Regions from separate parts of the Homo sapiens genome. Here region 2 is linked to region 1. The links are contacts of gene promoters, found by promoter capture Hi-C in blood cells and fetal thymus (Javierre and others, 2016). All regions are on one chromosome and are shown on one strand. Each heading gives the region's core, a stretch centred on a gene start or on the middle of the fragment in contact. The rest is flanking DNA. Distances are from core to core; before and after follow the strand shown. Region 1 holds the start of PLSCR5-AS1 (PLSCR5 antisense RNA 1). Region 2 has its middle 24 kb from the start of LNCSRLR.

The links. Contacts are between HindIII fragments. The CHiCAGO score rates a contact against its expected background, and 5 or more counts as called.
Region 2: a contact is called between a fragment that was not itself captured here and the fragment with the promoter of PLSCR5-AS1 in region 1, in 1 of 17 cell types (monocytes). The highest score is 5.2, in monocytes.

The regions. Positions count from the first base shown.
Region 1 is chr3:146,586,376-146,591,684 of GRCh38, forward strand. PLSCR5-AS1 (PLSCR5 antisense RNA 1) reads left to right here and starts at 3,227. Exons shown (of 2, transcript NR_046698.1): 1 at 3,227-3,413; 2 at 3,688-3,950. PLSCR5 (phospholipid scramblase family member 5) reads right to left here. Exons shown (of 8, transcript NM_001085420.2): 6 at 3,278-3,439. The HindIII fragment of the contact is 1,724 bases long and covers 1,693-3,416 here.
Region 2 is chr3:146,042,554-146,047,862 of GRCh38, forward strand. No RefSeq gene overlaps it. Among named protein-coding and RNA genes, the nearest start is that of LNCSRLR, 24 kb to the right of the region's middle. The HindIII fragment of the contact is 9,546 bases long and covers 1-5,309 here.

The DNA.
Region 1 (5,309 bases), core at 1,977-4,476:
TATCTGGAGAAGAAAAATTTAAAAATTTTAAGCTTCGTGACTTTTTATTTTCATGTTGAATTTTCAGAGTATAAGTAACTTGGAAACTTTATCTAAATCTGCATAGTATTGTCAAACTTTTGGGTGATAAACCCTTTGCAGAATTAGACTGTATGCATTCTGGGTCAGTGTAGGAAGTTATAATGGATACGAATATTTGAACAAAAATTAGATATATTACCAGAGATAATGTGGTCAGCAATAGGTGGTTATTTGAGGGAGTACTGAAAACTACACCAGAGAGAACTCAAAGAGTGAGTGGTGAGTCGGAGGAGTGGTGGGTTGTGAAGCCGTATCTTGGAACCAGAAGAGACCAAAAATTAGATTTCATTTGTGATTTAGATTTGTATTTAAATGAGGAAATAACCTTATACCAGCAGCTTTCTAAAGCTTTCGCCTGAATAAAATAGAAACAGCAATTAAAAATTAAAAACATAATTCTTTCTATAAAATTATGTATAAGGAAAGTAATTTATCTTGGTAATACATGTAAGAAATAGTTTTATAAGCTATATTGGCTGGCAAAAAAAGGCAAATGTTTTACAATATGATGGTAAAAAGAAAAAAAGAGAAATGAATGGGAGTCATTAACTATTCTCAGTGAACATTTCTCCCTTAAATGCTGGAGTTTAAAAGTTATCCTTTTAGATGATTAGGGTATTATCTAGATCAGTGCTTCTTAAATTTATAGTGCATAGAGGAAGCACCTGGGCATCTTGTTCAAGTGCAGGTCCTGATGCATCTGGGGTGGGATCTGAGATTCTTTGCTTTGAGCGAGCTTCTAGGTGGTGCAGATGCTTGCACTTTGCACCACACTTTGAGTATGACCTAGATCAACCTTTACGGAACCTACATCTCATCAATCTCTCAAAGCATATGGACTAAGAAATACATGCTTTTTCAAGAAGAACATATGTTTAGAGGGTTTCTGAAACAATAAGAAAAACTGATAAGGTTTAAAATACAGAGAACTGTAGTTCCAATTTTGGCAGTACATTTTAACTATCAGCTTGTTATGTAAAATAGGTGAGTAGGGCAGATTAAAAAGGATCTATTTCTAAATATTAACGTTAAGTGTGGGGCTTAATCAGAAAGGCCTAATGAAGATCTTGGGGAAAGGGTGTGTGTGTGGAGGGGTTGGTGTTGAAGTCAGAATGATCAAAGATGGGAACAGTAAGCAAAGGAAGGGTGACAAGTTAAAAGCACTGTCCAGTGGATAGAGGAGAATAGGGAAGAGATGACATTAGGCAACAGGCAAGGTGGACTAAGCTGGTTAGATTTGCAGATGAAAATGGGAGTTGAGAGTAAGTGACAACTTAGTAAGTTTAAAAACCTAGCACTCTATAGATATTACTTCCATCTTCTACCAATAATAGGAGACTGGTAAGTTAAAATAATTCCTCTGAAATCCTGGAGAAATAATCCTAATATACATACTTGTATATGTATATGTATATGTATATATGCATATATATATACATATATATCTATGTATTAAATTCTGAGTTTCAGTGAAGTCATCAGGGAATAATTTTTAGTTCATATATTTTCCAAATATCATTAGAAGAGACTCAGTAAATAGGGCATTAATGTAAACAATCAGATTTAGCATTCTGAAACCCCAGAAAACAATAAAACATGAGAAGGAATTTAAGCTTTATAAAAATTTCATGATTACCAAAAGTGCATAACCTGAATCTAACCATGACACAAACTGAAATTAGGCCACAGTTTACAAAATAATTGGCTTATGCACTTAAAAAATGCCAATGTCGGCTGGGCAAGGTGGCTCACACCTATAATCCCAGCACTTTGGGAGGCCAAAGCGGGTGGATCACGAGGTCAGAAGATCGAGACCATCCTGGCTAACACAGTGAAACCCCATCTCTACTAAAAATACAAAAAAATTAGCCGGGTATGGTGGCACATGCCTGTAATCCCAGCTACTCGGGAGGCTGAGGCAGGAGAATCGCTTGAACCTGGGAGGCAGAGGTTGTGGTGAGCCAAGATTGCGCCACTGCACTCCAGCCTGGGTGACAGAGTGAGACTCTATCTCAAAAAATAGAACAAAAAATAAAACAAAAACAAAAATGCCAATGTCATGAGACTCAGGGAAATGCACATGCATGTGCACATGTTCATGCACACACATATACACACACACACACCCCTTAGGAACAGTTCCAGGTGAAAAGAAACAAATGAGATGTGACAAAATGGACATACTTCATGATCTTGGATTTTCTATTGTCAGAAAGGACATCATTATGCAAATCAGTGCAAACCGAATAAAGTCTGTAGATTAGATAATAGCATTGAATCAGTGTTTAGTGCCTGACTTTGACAATAGTACTGTGATGTGTAAAAAAATTCCTTGTTTTTAGGAAATGCACACTAATATAATTAGGGGAAAAGGCATCATGTCTGCAACCTACTCTCAACTCTTATGCTGTTTGTTTTAATCACTTATGTGTGTGCCTGTGTATACACATCTTTTTCATGTATTTATAGAAAATACATGTGTTTATATATCAACAAATAAAAACTCCATAAGTTTTTATGGCTGCATTGAAAATGGTAGGAAATTAGGTAAATATTAGAGGGAAAACTAAGAACAGGATATAGGTCAAGCATTTTGATACAGGTATTATTTGACTTCTGTTCTTCTATCACCAATCTCCATATACCAAAGAAGAAAAGGTTTTCAATATAATTGTAAGTTGGAAAGTAATAACAAGAACATAGTATCTTAGAAATAATGGCAACTGGTACCTATTAACTCATCAAATCATTTCATGTGTCTATGTTCACACTGAGAAGGCAACATTCTTAATATCATCTAGCTCACTATTATGCAATGAACCAGTCTGGAACTTTATCCAGGATAAATCATGTGATATTTATGTTTGCATATTTTTTAGTTCAAGTGAAAATAAGCCAAAAATCTAAATTGAACGTAAAAGCAAGGGGAAACTAGGTTTTAAAGAAATGATGAATAGGATGTGATAACACTTCAATCTTTGAGAAAGGGGATATGAGATCACTGAAGAGGGGCTGCCTAACAGAAATGCAGGGTTCTAAATTCTAATTTTTGAAGAACATTGGTCCTAAGCTATCCTTCTATGAATAAAATATACTCTTTGGGGGTAAAAACTGTGTAAATGGGATAGGCTATATTGTAATTAACAAGCAAGAGGGAGAATAACAAATCACTCATGCTCTCAAAGCCCATACTTACAAAGAGAAAACAGGCACCGATCATTGCTGCTTTGACTGTTACATCTAGATCTGCAGGAACATGAATTCCGAAATTGTCAGCATTTGTGAAGACATCATTTACAAATCCTGACCAGTACTTTGAAATCTTCCCAATTGTAAGCTTTTCATTAATGGTTTTCACCTTTAGAAAGAAAATAAGGAGTATTAAATTTGACAGTGAAAAAAGTTGGTTTTATACTTCTGAGGGTGTTTACTTCATGAGAGATTTGAATTATTTTATTTGTCATCTTCAAAATGACAATTCCATGTTATTCATTCCATCATATAAGCATAGGTTTGTAAATTTAGCTTTTCAGTTTACTTTTTAGAAACTTTGCTTTTTTGACAGTTTTCTAGTCCATCATAATTCTTTTTCTTTTTTGTATGCAGATGGAGAATATCAGGATAAATAATTAAGGCTCAGCCACCACAAGATGGCAGCAGGTACATAGTTCAATTGTATCATCTAAGCATGAAGGCGATTTCTTTACTTGAGGTCCAGATTTTAAACCTGAATTCTCCATCTTAAAAATGTAAAAGAAGATATGTTTGAAAAAATATTTCAGAAGGAATTAAATTAATTTCTAGGCATAATTTGTAAACTTTCAAATTTCAGTTGCTAAAATTTTATAATTATTAAAACATTTAAATATTATTGGCCATTGTTAAATCACATTTTTATATTATACTCAGACATTTATTAGGTCAATACTTTCTAACAAATCCTAAATCCTATTTTTACATTAAAAAAATCCTCCTGGTTAATGTACCATATAGGAAGTTAAGACCAACTAGACATCAATCAGTCCTTCTCAGCTAGAAGGAGTTCACAAATCAACTTTATCAGCTATTTGTTTGTTTATTCTGCTTCCCATCCTGATGCTGAAAGTAATTCAAGAGAAACTATCACTTTTTTCAGGGTAGTAAAAGATAGAGAATAGAGAGGGTTACTTAGGACATTTCTATAGCATGAATGCTAAAACTCTTATGTTTAAAGTCCTCCTCAATCATATTACTCGTAGGAAAGTCATGCCAAATCCTTTGGGGATAGGGTGAAGTTGGAACAGCTCAGTTTGCAAAATTTGCATTGTATTCTACGTGCATAGTGTTTCCTGAAGTCCTGAGAACTAAATGCCCTTGCTGAGATATTTATGTATGAATGGATGAAAAATAAATATACACTTTCAATTAGGCTGTCTCCTCTACCTAAGTTGTATGTCCAGGACAACCTGTTAAGATAGTTTATATTGCTACAGATCAAATTTACAACTTTCTATTTTTTAAATATTCAATTTATACAAATACGAGAATAAGGTTTTTTTTTGTTTTTTTTTTTTGTTTTTTTTACAAAACTAACTTAGCAAGTCTTAGAAACACAGCTTTTGAGTTAATGCTGTTTTAATGTAACGTGCTGCTGAAATGAGATCTAAACTGGGATATGTGATCTCAAGGCCCATAGGAAAGAAGATACATAATTTAGGTGATTCTAAACTGTATATATTGGCTTTATTGCCATGTGTCCTGTGATTCTACATAAATAAAACATACTGAAACAAGAATGAAGTGCTAATTTTCAAAATCAGGAAATATTGGTTATCTTAAAAAGGCAAAGCTATGTGTCCAAAAATTTTTGATGTTCAAAGTCTTGCACACATTAAAATAGCAACACATTTACTATTCTAATCAAAGAGATATAGTAGCTTTGTCCATAGAACACATAGAATTATATTTAGCTAAACATGCTTTTATTATAGTAAAATTTATTAATATTACTTTGGATAATACTTACACTGGTCTATGACAGATATGATGGCCAAGGTGATAAATTTTGTAATATTATTTTTAAAAAATCCTTGGACTTTATATCTCTGGATTTACATATTCCTATTCTTAGCATGTACAATATGGGCTGATTACATTATATTACAAATATGTCATTTTCTGAACTTATTTTAAATGAAATTAATTTGAACATAAAAAAATTGAATTATGTTGCAAAAAAAAATCAGGAC
Region 2 (5,309 bases), core at 1,535-4,034, 540 kb before region 1:
CTCTCACAGCTCCACTAGGCAGTGCCCCATTAGGAACTCTACGTGGAGGCTCTAACCACATATTTTCCTTCCACACTGCCCTAGCAGAGGTTCTCCAGGAGATCCCTGGCCCTGCAGCAACCTTCTGTCTTTATATAAATGTCTTTATATTCAGGCATTTCTATATATTCTCTGAAATCTAGACAGAGGTTCCCAAACCTCAATTCTTGACCTCTGTCCACCCAGAGGCTCAAAACCATGTGGAAGCTGCCAAGGCTTGAGACTAGCAGCCTCTGAAGCCATGGCAAAAGCTCTACATCAGCTCCTTTCAGCCACGGCCGGAGCGACTGGGAAGCAGGACACAAAGTCCCTAGGCTGCACACAGCATGGGGACTCTGGGCCTGGCCCACAAAACCACTTTTTCTTCCTAGGCCTCTGGGCTTGTGATGGGAGGGGCTGCTGTGAAGACCTCTGACATACCCTGGAGACATTTCCTCCTTTGTCTTTGGGATTATCATTCATCTCCTCGTTACTTCTGCAAATTTCTGCAACTGGCTTGAATTTCTCCTCAGAAAATGGAATTTTCTTTTCTATTGCATTATGAGGCTACAGATTTTCCAAATTTTTATGCTCTGTTTCCCTTTTAAAACTGAATGCCTTTACCAGCACCCAAGTAATATTTTGAATACATTGCTGCTTAGAAACTTCTTCCACCAGACACCCTAAATCATCTTTCTCAAGCTCAAAGTTCCACAAATCTCTAGGGTAGGGGCAAAATGCTGCCAGTCTCTTTGCTAAAACATAATGAGAATCGCCATTGTTCCAGTTCCAACAAGTTCCTCATTTCTATCTGAGACCACCTTAGCCTGGACTTTATTGTCCATATCGCTATCAGCATTTTGGGCAAAGCCATTCAAGAAGTCTCTAGGAAGTTCCAAACTTTCCCATATTTTTCTGTCTTCTTCTGAGCCCTCCAAACTCTTCCAACCTCTGCCTGTTACCCAGTTCCAAAGTCACTTCCACATTTTCTGGTATCTTTACAGCAATGCCCCACTCTACTGGTACCAATTTACTGTATTAGTCTGTTCTCATGCTGCTGATAAAGACATTCCCAAGACTGGGAAGAAAAAGAGTTTTAATGGACTTAGAGTTCCACATGGCTGAGGAGGCCACACAATCTTGGGGGAAAGCAAGGAGGAGCAAGTCATATCTTACGTGGTTGGTAGCAGACAAAGAGAGAGCTTGTGCAGGGAAACTCCTGTATTTAAAACCATCAGATCTCATGAGACTCATTCACTTTCATGAGAACAGCTCAGGAAAGACCCACTCCCATAATTCAATCACCTCCCACCAGGTTCCTCCCACAACATGTGAGAATTGTGGGAGTTACAATTCAAGATGAGATTTGGGTGGGGACACAGCCAAACCATGTTAATTACCTTAGATCTTACCAACCTCAGCATACAACTTTTTTCTTTTTTTTTTTCTTTTTTGCTTTCCTTAATTCAAGAGACTTCATCTTTTTACTTAAAGGAAGCACAATACAGTTTCTCTTTAGTGTATCCAAGTTGTCAGCATCATTACTCTTGTGCTTTGAGGCCATTATTAATTAAAATAAGGGCTAATTGAACAGAACACAGTGATACAGTGATACTCAACAAGCTGGGCAGTAAGTGACTAATAGGCAGGTGGTGTGCACAGCAAGAATATGCTGAACAAAGCAATGATTCACATTCCAGTTAGGACAGAGTGGGATGGTGTGAGATTTTATCACACAATTCAGAACTGTGTGCAATTTAAAACTTATGAAGTGGTATTATTAGCATTTTCCATTTAATATTTTCAGACCACAGTTTGCTGAAGGTATCTGAAACCACTGAAAGTGAGGCTATGGATAAGGGATACTACTGTATTATGAGACAAGGATGATTATCAAAAGGCCAGATTTAGAAGCAGAATATCAAGAATTCAATTGGGGATATGATAGGTTTGAGATGTCCATTGTAGATCTAAGTGGAGATGTGGAGTAACAGTTGAGTATATAAACTGAAATTTGAGCTAGGTGTAATCTCTTGCATTACTCCATTCTCAAATGGCTATAAAGAAATACCTGAGACTGGGTAGTTTATAAAGAAAAGAGGTTTAATTGACTTACAGTTCTGCAGATTGTAAAGGAGACATGGCTGGGAGACCTCAGGAAACTTAACAGTTACAGCAGAAGGAGAAGGAGAGGCAAGTATGTCTTACAATGGCAAAGCAGGAGAGAGAACAAAGGGGGAAAGGCTACACACTTTTAAACCACAAGATCTTGTGAAAACTCACTCAGTATCTTGAGAACGACAAGAGGAAAATCTGCCCCCATGATTCAATCACCTCCCATGAGACCCTCTCCTCTAAAACATGGGAATGACAATTTGACATGAGAATTGTGTGGGGACACAGAACCAAACCATATCATTCCACCATGGCTCCTCCCAAATCTCATGTCCTTCTCACATTTCAAAACAGAATCATGCCTTCCCAATAGTCCCCCAGGTCTTAACTCATTTCAGCATTAACTCAAAATCCAAGTCCAAAGTCTCATCTGAGACAAAGCAAGTCTCTTCTGCCTATGAGCCTGTAAAATAAAAAACAAGTTAGTTACTTCAAAGATACAAGGGGGGTAGAGGCATTGGGTAAATTTCTCCCATTCCAAAAGGGAGAAATTGGCCAAAACAAAGGGGTTACAGGCCCCATACAAGTCCAAAACCAAGCAGGAAACTCATTAAATCTTAAAGCTCCAAAATAATCTCCTTTCAGTCCATGTCTTACATCCAGGGCATGCTTATGTAAGGGGTGGGCTCCTACGGCCTTGGGCAGCTCTTCCCCTATGGCTCTTCAGGGTACAGCCACCACAGCTGCTTTCACAGGATGGTGTTCGGTGCGTATGGCTTTTCCAGACACATAGTGCAAGCTGTTGGTTGAACCATCATTCAGGAATCTGAAGGACAGTGGCTCTCTTCTCACAGCTCTACTAGGCACTGCCCCAGTGGGGAGTCTGCATGGAGGCTCCAACCTCACATTTCCCCTCTGCACTGCCCTAGTAGAGGTTCTTCATGAGGTCTCCACCCTTGCAGCAGATTTCTACCTGGATATGCAGGTGTTTCTGTACATCCTATGAAATCTAGGCAAAGGCTCCCAAACTCCAACTCTTGCCTTCTGCACACCACAGGCCCAACACCATGTGGAAGCTGCCAAGGCTTGGGACTTGCCCCCTCTGAAGTCATGACCCAAGCTGTACCTTGGTCCCTATTAGCCATAGCTGGAGTTGGAGTGGCTGGGACACAGGGTGCCATGTCCCAAGGCTGTACAGAGCAACGGGGCCTTGGGCCTGGCCCCAGAAAATGGGATTTTCTTTTCTACCACATGGTCAGGCTCTGTTTGTGAGCACATATAACTGAATGCTTTCAGCATCAACCAGGTCAACTCTTGAATGCTTTGCTGCTTAGAAATGTCTTCTACCAGATACCCTAAATCTTCTCTTTAAGTTCAAAGTTCCATAGATCCCTAAAGCAGGGGTACAATGCTGCCAGTCTCTTTGCTAAAGCATAGCAAGAGTGACCTTTACTCAAGTTCCCAATAAGTTCCCCATCTCCACCTAAGACCACCTCAGCCTAGACTTCACTGTCCATATCACTATTAGCATTATGGTCACAGCCATTCAACAAGTCTCCAGGAAGTTCCAAACATTTCCTCATCTTCCTGTCATTTTCTTATCTCTCTGAACTGTTCCAACACTTCCCCATTATCCAGTTCCAACGTCACTTCTACATTTTCAGGTGTCTTTATACTCCACTCTCGGTACAAATTTTCTGTAATAGTTCTTACTCACCTTGCTAAAAGAACTGTCTGAGACTGGGTAGTTTATAAAGAAAAGAGGTTTAATTGACTCACAATTCTGCAGGCTATGCAAGAAGCATGGCTGGGAGGCCTCAGAAAACTTACAAGAAAAGAGAAGGGGAAGCAAGCATGTCTTCTCATGGCAGGGCAGGAGAGAGAGCAAAGGGGAAAGTGCAACACACTATTTATTTATTTATTTATTTATTTATTTATTTATTTATTTGAGATGGAGTTTCACACTTGTTGCCCAGGCTGGAGTGCAATGGCATGATCTCAGCTCACCACAACCTCTGCCTCCCGGGTTCAAGTGATTCTCCTGCGTCAGCCTCCCAAATAGCTGGGATTACAGGTATGCCCCACCACGCCCTGCTAACTTTGTATTTTTAGTAGAGACGGGGTTTCTCCATGTTGGTCAGGCTGGTCTCGAGCTCTCGACCTCAGGTGATCCACCAGCCTCGGCCTCCCAAAGTGCTGGGATTACAGGCGTGAACCATCACGTCTGGCGTGCAACATACTTTTAAACAAGCAGATCTCATGAGAACTCACTCATTATCACAAGAACAGCAAGAGGGAAATCTACCACCAAGATTCAATCACCTCTCATCAGACCCCTCCTCCAACACATGGGAATTACAATTTGACATGAGATTTGGGTGAGGACATAGAGCCAAACCATATCATCTCTTAATCACAACTTAAAAATCAATCTGTGTGATCACAGATCCTGTTTTTTGTTTTGGTTCTGCTTAACTGTTAAATGTCTATGCCTAGCATGTGCCTGACACAGAGAAGGTATTCAATAATTGATATTTGGTGAATGAATGTACAAATTAATTTCTAGTTTCATGGTTTGAACAGGGCCTTGGGTATTTCTGATGATTTCTGAATTACCACCAATGACTATAATTTAAATTTTCAAACACAAATCAATGCGAATAGGGAATATGAGGAAATGTTGACTCTGGCCAAGTTATCTCTAAAACAACAACAAACGAAAAACAATTATTTTCCACTGGGAAAACCATTTGGATAACTGTTTAGTTAAACAAATTTTGTGTCCAGCTAAGATGTGGGTGTCTATAAACTTATATCCAAGACATACTTAATAGGCTTTGTTTCTAGAGTCCACCTTATGATGGCCTAATCATTTCTTCTTTGTAACCATAAAGAAATAGTGACAATTGCCTTCAGTCAATAGTCTAAGCAGAAATTTGAAAATTGCCCTCATAATATAAATCTGAGTTTCTTCTGTGTTGGCCTGAAGAAAGAAAAGTAACTGTCAGCAAATAACGAAATAATTTTACTTGTATTTGAATTTCTGCTTCTTTAAAAAATAATTTAAAAAATATAATATTAAGCAACCCTGCACCAGCCTTCAGGCAAGGCCCCAATTGGCTGACACTGAAGGGCTACTGTGACCTTAGGGTAACTGTGCACTCTTCTGCCACCAT